Linked DNA regions of Homo sapiens: region 1 is linked to region 2. Evidence: promoter capture Hi-C in human tissues and cell types (Jung and others, 2019). All regions are on one chromosome and are shown on one strand. The core of a region is centred on a gene start or on the middle of the fragment in contact, and the rest is flanking DNA. Distances in the headings are between cores, read along the strand shown.

Region 1 (3,613 bases), core at 161-2,660, 520 kb after region 2:
ATGTACTCTTATGTATTGCTAGTGGAAATATAAATTAGTATATCATTATTTAAGAGCAATTTGATAGTATCTACAAAATGAAGTACATATACTCTTTGACTTAGCATTTCCATTTATATGCTAACATACAAGTTTTAAAATAAATATATACATATATGTCTGTGCATTTATAAAGTAATTCTGGAAGGATACACAAGAAACTGCTAGCAGCTGTCCCCTCTAGAGAGCAGGAATAGAGGACTCAGAAGCAAGGTGGGAGGAAGAGTTGTTTTTTATTAAATACCCTTTGGTGCCTCTTGAATTTTTTACAGTGCATTATATTGCTCCTAAAAATAAATAACAAAAAGAGAGCAAAGTAGAAAACACTAACTTCTAACGATGTACTCATATTTATTATTAACATTAAATTTAATTTTTAAAGATTTTTTTCATTGGGAAATGTTATGAAAAACTCAGGATTGAAATAGGGGAGTTTGAATTGCAGAGAAGACATGCACCTAACCAAAGGATAACAAAGATGCTTCACCTCTCCTACAAACCCCAGCCCTCAGGCAGTGACTTCCACAAGCACTGAGATAAGAAGGATTCTAAGGCTAGTCCGAGTTCAGTAAGAATGAGTAGCACGACTGACTAGCCATGTCTGCCTTGCTCACAGGATGGGGTCATAGCATCATCTTTAATACAAACTCCATCTCTCTCCTAATGGCTCCAACCAATGAGACTGTGTTATAACCACTCCATTTGATGGCAGCCTATGTTCGACTGCAGAATCCAACTTATTTTAAGAGTGAATACCTCTTGGGGTGGTGAATGCATGAAACTAAAGTGATACTGTGGCAGAAAACATCACAAGTCCCTTAATATTAAGCCAAAGTAGATTGCAATGGCTGGGTATAGATTCACAGAGAAGACACAAATTAAATCGGGCTTAAATGTTAGCTAGGGGCTGGGTGCAGTAGCTCATGCCTGTAATCCCAGCACTTTGGGAGGCTGAGGCAGGTGGATCACCTGAGGTCAGGAGTTCAAGACCAGCCTGGCCAACATGGTGAAATCCCGTTTCTACAAAAAATACAAAAATTAGCTAGGTCTGGTGGTTCGTGACTGTAATCTCAGTAACTCAGGAGGCTGAGGCAGGAGAACTGCTTGAACCTGGGAGGTGGCAGTTGCAGTGAGCAGAGTTCATGCCATTGTACTCCAGCCTAGGTGACAGAGCGAGACTCCATCTCAAAAAAAAAAAAAAAAAAAAAAAGTGTTAGCTAGGAACTTGAATAGGGGAACAATATGGTTTGGCTGTGTCTCCGCCCAAATCTCATCTTGAATTGTAGTTCCCATAATCCCCACGTGTCATAGGAGGGACCTGGTGGGAGGTAATGCAATCATGGGGGCGGTTACCCTCATGCTACTGTTCTCGTGATAGTGAGTTTTCATGAGATCTGATTTTTTTTTTTTTTTTTTTTTTTTGAGATGGAGTCTTGCTCTGTCGCCCAGGCTGGAGTGCAGTGGCGTGATCTCGGCTCACTGCAAGCTCCGCCTCCTGGGTTCACACCATTCTCCTGCCTCAGCCTCCCAAGTAGCTGGGACTACAGGCGCCTGCCACCACGCCTGGCTAATTTTTTTTTTTTTTTTTTTGTATTTTTAGTGGAGAAGGGGTTTCACCATGTTAGTCAAGATGGTCTCAATCTCCTGACCTCGTGATCTGCCTGCCTCAGCCTCCCAAAGTGCTGGGATCATAGGTGTGAGCCACTGCTCCAGGCCGAGATCTGATTGTTTTATAAGGGGCTTTTTCCCCTTTTGCTTGGCACTTCTCCGTCCTGCAATCATGTGAAGAAAGACATGTTTTCTTCCCCTTCTGCCATGACTGTAAGTTTCCTGAAGCCTCCCCAGCCATGTGGAACTGTAAGTCAATTAAACCTCTCTCCTTTATAAATTACTTAGTCTTGGCCAGTTCTTTATAGCAGCATGAGAACAAACTAATACAGGGAAGAAGAGGAAAAAAGGGATTCTAGACAGGGGAAATAATTTCAAAAGATAGTAATAAGTAGGCCTAGCATCAAAGACAGGGGAGAAGAGTGAATAATAAGGAGATAGGACTAGGGCAAAGGCTTGCATAGAAGAAACAATATTAGAAAACTGTTTTTGTGGAGACCCTTGGCAAAGTGTTTGGAGTTATCTAATGCACAGTCAGAGTAAAATGCTTAGACAAGGCTTGAGAAGCACAGTGGAGAGGGGAAGATGTGGTCAGCATGGAGACCAGCTGGGAAGCTCACTCATGATCACATGAGTGGGGCTTGGACCAGGGACATGGCAGTCCTTGGAGTGAAGTGGACCAGCACAAGGGTACTGCAGAGGCACAACAGGTGGGCGGCCCACTGTTGGGCCAAAAGGAGAGGGTGGGAACAAAGGGAGAGGGTGGGAACAATCACCCTCAAAAGTAAAAGATGCTTCTCTGGGCTTGGATTTCTTCATCTATGAGTAGATATAAAAGTATCTGCTTCATAAGGATGTGATAGGTATCAAATGAGATTGTTCATGCAATCATCAATCAATCAATGGCCTACCAATCACTCCATTGATTGGCATCATATGCCATTCAGTAAGCTGAGGAGAAAGAGAGAAATGTGTTCCTCTCCTTCAGATCATATATATGTTAGTTTGTAATTGTATGTGTGTGGTTATTTGATTGAGAGCTCTCTCTTCCCACCAGCCTGAAAGTTCTGTGAGAGCAGTAACAGATGTGTTATAGTGACATCTGTATCCCTTGTGCTCATAGAGTGCCTGTCCCATAACAGGTAGTTAAAAAATGCTTGTTGAGTATATAATTAAAAATGGATTGATATTTAAGTGATTGATAGATTGATAAATACATACATACATACATGCATACATAAATATATACATAGACAGACTTCATAAGCTTTAATCCCAGGGACTGAAAGATAAATACGGAGTCAGACAGAAGTAGGAATGTTGGAAGGATTTGAAAAGACAAGAGAGTCAACTAGAGGCAACCGGGAACCTAAAAGTGCAGGAACCTGAAGTTTTCCAGATCCTTTCTAGCACTGATTAGCACCGAAGAGCAAACGCAGAAGTTGCTCCTTATGAAAACCTGAGTCCTCCTCTTTTATTAGCAAGTCCCACACTGACGTACACAACCCTAGAACGTCAATATTGCTCCTCCTGGGTAGTGAGGCGAGAGAGAGAGACGTTAATGGAGAATTAATTCTATGTTTTGTGTGTGCAAACACACACACTCCACAATACCTACTTAACTGAAGTTTGTGGGTACTTGTACCCAAAACATTCAAAGTACCTTAAAAGTCCTGAAGTCTCGTTGTCCCTATTTTACAGATGGAGAAATGGAGAGGCACTCAAAGCACCTCTGCTCCTCACTCGGTAAAGGTGAGTTGCATTTGCTTTCCATGTGGACAGACTGAAATACAAAGGGGTTGGCCACCCACTGGGTTCTGTGTGCAGAACTTCGGCCAGGTAGCAGACTTCATTCTTGGAGAACAGGTAGTTGAGTAGAACTGGAACTCCCTGTTTCTGTACCCCTGGAAGCTGTCTGACCTCCACCAGTGACACACCAAGGAGAAGGAGGAAGATACCTAAAATC
Region 2 (3,976 bases), core at 1,261-3,760:
ATGGGGATAATGCCTCATGAAATTACAGTGCAGATTCACTGAGTTAATACACCTAGAGCATTTAGAACCGTGCATGGCACCTAGGAAGCATTCAATTAATGTTAGCTTAAATTATTACTAGTCTTAGTTCCTGAAATGTCTCATCTCACAGCCAAGGAGAAAAGAGGATTATGATTATGATGGAGACAGCAGTAGAAAGAGCAGAAACCTTGGTGTCAGAAGACATTGTTTCAAATTGTGGCATTTCTTTCTTTCTCTTTTTTTTTGTTTTTGAGACAGACTCTCGCTCTGTTGCCCAGACTCATGGGCGGTGGCACGATCTCGGCTCACTACAACTTCCACTTCCCGGGTTCAAGCAATTCTCATGCCTCAGCCTCCCGAGTAGCTGGGATTACAGGTGCATGCCACTAAGCCTGTCTAATTTTTGTATTTTCTTGTAGAGGCAGGGTTTCACTATGTTGGCCAGGCTGGTCTCCAACTCCTGACCCCAAGTGATCCATCCACGTCGGCCTCTCAAAGTGCTGGGATTACAGGTGTGAGCCACCATGCCCAGCACAAACTGTGGCATTTCCACTGGAAGTTATTTCTTTCTGAGCTTCAGTTTACCCATCTTTAATAAATTTTGCCCTGTTTATAACTTAAGGCTTCGAGGACCAAAAATGAGACGACAGATGTGAAATAAAGCTTTAGGGGCTGGGAGGACAGCAGGCTGTGTCAGAGTTCAGAAGTCCCTGCTAGAGAACACATATCCTATACCCAGAAGTACCTCAGAGGTCAGCACTACAGGAACCATGGAGGCAGTCACAACAACTGCCATTACCTCTTAATCATCTCAGCACACCCTGTAAAGTCTAGCACAGCAGTCCCTAGGTAATTGTTTATTGAATACCCTGCACATGAGGGTATTTTTCTTCCTTTCCCATTCACATCTTTAATCTGTTCAGCAATGTAAGTCAAGCAACTAGGAACTGTTAAACTCTGGGCTATGTACTGAAATAGACAAATGAAAAAGCCACAGCTCTTGTTCTTACCTCCTGGGAGAAAGGTGAAACAGACATAAATTTAATCCCAGGGGAGACACATTTTTGTCTTCCCTCTGCTTTCCTTTCCCCCTACTTTTTAAACAAATCATTCATTCAAAAAATAAATTCACTGCTTCTATTATCTAGGACTTATCCAGTTACTGGAGTCAGAGCAGTGAACAAGCAAGGTCCCTATCCTCTGGATGCTTGTATTTGGAAGGGGAGCAGGACAAAACAAAAGCAAAATAAATAAAGAAGATATAATTAGTGATACATGCCACAAACACAATTAAGCAGGGTGATGTGACAGGGACTCGACGACTATAGATTGAGTGGAGGGAAGGCCTCTCTAAAGGAGATGACATTTGGGACTTGAATGATAGGACATTCTGATTTTCTCATGTCTAAAATCAGGAATAATACCAATAGCTATTAATATTTATTACCACGAAAAGGTACCATGTTTTACTGGTAAGAGTGCAGGCTATGCGGGTCTGGGTTCAAATCCTGACTTTTGCACCTAGTAACTGCACCTTTAGCAAGTCACATGACCTTTCTTTAAGCATCCTCTCGATAGAAAAGCTTTCCTAAACAGAGTTCCTTGTTATTCTATATCATAGCCACTTTTCCATCTTTTTCCTCCTACTAAATGCTAATTCAATGTATTACTTAATGTTTCCTCTTCTATTTCCTTCACTAGAACGTAAGCTCCCACAGCACAGGACCTTGCCAATCTTGATCACGGTTCTATTTCTAGCACTTAAGTACACTGCCTGTCTCACGGTTGGTGCTTAATATTTACTAAATGAAGCAAGCCGCTTCTCCACTCGAAGACTTAGTTTCTTTTTCCTTCCTAGAATGGGTACAATTTGTCGTCTCACGAGGTCGTTGTGAGTCTTAAATAAGACAATTTTGGTGACAGCTCAGAATATGGCTTTTTGAGGAAAGGTAAAGGGTAATAAAAGATCAAGACGGCACGGGACTATCAAAATGCTTTGCGTTTGCAATAGCAACAATCCTTTAGACTACCAGAGTTCACAAAACGCGGTTACATTTGTCTTTCCAGCTGAGCTGCAATAACTCTGGAAGCCAGAAATAGTCATCTGGGGAAAGTGCAATCCAGAGAAGAAGAGACACCTGATCCTAACAGCAAGCGGTGGGGTCATGCCTGGAACCCTGGCTTCCCGATTTCTGGCTGCGAATTCCTACAGGCGAAGGGTCATTACTCGGATTGTTATTTCCGGGCCAGCGACAGGACAATCCGGGGCGGGGCCTGAGATGCAGTCCTGCGAGGGCGGCCTCCTGTAAGACCTCTTAGCGGGCCCATCGCTGAGGTGCAGGGACATGTCGCGGCCGAACTCACCTCGTGGCCTCGGCGTGGTGCTCTCAGCTCATGCCCGGAAACCAGGTCCCGACGCCGCGGTCAGACGGACCTCTAGACGCGTCCGCCTCAATGCCGCCAGCTGCCAGGCCGCCCGTGACGCGTTAAGCCTGCGCCGCCTCCTGGCTTCGTGACGTCACGACGTCCGCGCAGCTGCGGTCGCCGCCGTCGCACGAGTCTTTCCTTAGTAACCTGGGCGATAGCTGGTGAGTGTCCTTGACAGGGCCTCGAGGGGCGCGTGTGGTCTGGGTGCCAGAGACCCTTACTCAGGGACCTCTGGGGGACCTCAGGGGACCAGACTACCGTCCCCGACCCGTTCGAGTCCAGCTTGACCTTTAAGGCTGAGGGCGGGACCTGTGGCATTGGAGCGAGTCTCATGGGGTGGGGGCGGGGCTCCTTTTACCAGCTAGGAATTTAGGGGATGCTGGAGGAACTTACTAAAGAGTAGCCGCACACTTGACGGGAACGTTTGAGTTTCAGAACAATCCCATAGGAGTAGATATTATTATCTCCCATAATGAAGAAACGGAAGCTCACATAGGTAATTTTACCAGGGTCACGCGGTCAGAAAGTGAGGGCGCTTAAATTCAGACCTAGGGCTATCCGACTCCTAAGCCTGGACTTTTAACCACCACTCTGTGCCACCCAGTGGCAAAACAGTTGTCATTTCAGTAGCCCTTCTCCATTTACTTAACCCTGACAAATAGTATTGTCATTTACGTTTTACAGATGAGACGGAAGTCCTGAGAGTTTGACCGATTTAAGGTCACGTGCCTAGGAAGTGCTGGAACCAAGACTCGGAGTTTTCTCTAAGTTTAGTGCCTTTATTTTGTTTTAAACCACACTGTTGCATTTCCCCCCATTTTGGAAAGCTTTATAGTTGGAAAGAATGAAAACCTGATCTGACCCCTTCATTTTATGGTTGAAACAAAATCTACGTAGGAGAAATCACTTGGTACAAGTCACAAGTCAGTGGTAGAGCTGCCGCAAATGCTTTTTGAATACGTGTGATTATGAATCTAAATGGCAGATGGCAGGGAGTGATAAGGTAGGCATACTGGAATCCAGATCTCTTAACTCTTAGGCAAAAGCCCTTTCTCTACCTGTTAAAGTGTCTCATTCCTTCTTTGGCCGTGCCAGGTGCATAATGATTCTGTGTATAGTCAGATACTACAAGTACCTTTCTTTACCTGGTACTGCATTTAGAGAAGAACATCATCTACTATCTCTAAGCAAAAATCTGGCAAACCAGAGACAGTGGAGGCAACGCTGGGAAGCCCAGAACCTACCATAATAGTAAGGGTAGATTCCCATCCGATTCTGGTTTACCCTGGATAAGGAATTTATCTTTCTGGACTTTCACTGATGTATTCATCACATTCACAGTGTCTTCTGTGTTCTGGCAATGTACCAGGTACTGGGGATACAGCAGTGAACAAGAAAATCATAGATTAGTCCTTGTAGTACTTAGAGTCATATGGAGGGAATTAGACAATCAAATAATTACACAAATGTTAGCTTGTATTGTTAAGAATTAAGTGCTATGATGAAGTAAAGGGTGCTATGAAAGCAG

The links. Contacts are between HindIII fragments. The study calls those that stand out against the background at their distance.
Region 1: a contact is called between a fragment that was not itself captured here and the fragment with the promoter of RBM18 in region 2, in 1 of the 25 tissues and cell types used here (thymus).

What each region holds. Positions count from the first base shown.
Region 1 is chr9:122,781,312-122,784,924 of GRCh38, forward strand. No RefSeq gene overlaps it. Among named protein-coding and RNA genes, the nearest start is that of OR5C1, 5.8 kb to the right of the region's middle. The HindIII fragment of the contact is 9,163 bases long and covers 1-3,613 here.
Region 2 is chr9:122,262,330-122,266,305 of GRCh38, forward strand. RBM18 (RNA binding motif protein 18) reads right to left here and starts at 2,511. Exons shown (of 6, transcript NM_033117.4): 1 at 2,386-2,511. It overlaps MRRF (mitochondrial ribosome recycling factor), which reads left to right and starts at 2,553. Exons shown (of 7, transcript NM_138777.5): 1 at 2,553-2,609. RefSeq lists enhancers at 1,693-2,664, 2,043-3,242, 2,665-3,635, 2,811-2,970. The HindIII fragment of the contact is 4,734 bases long and covers 1,145-3,976 here.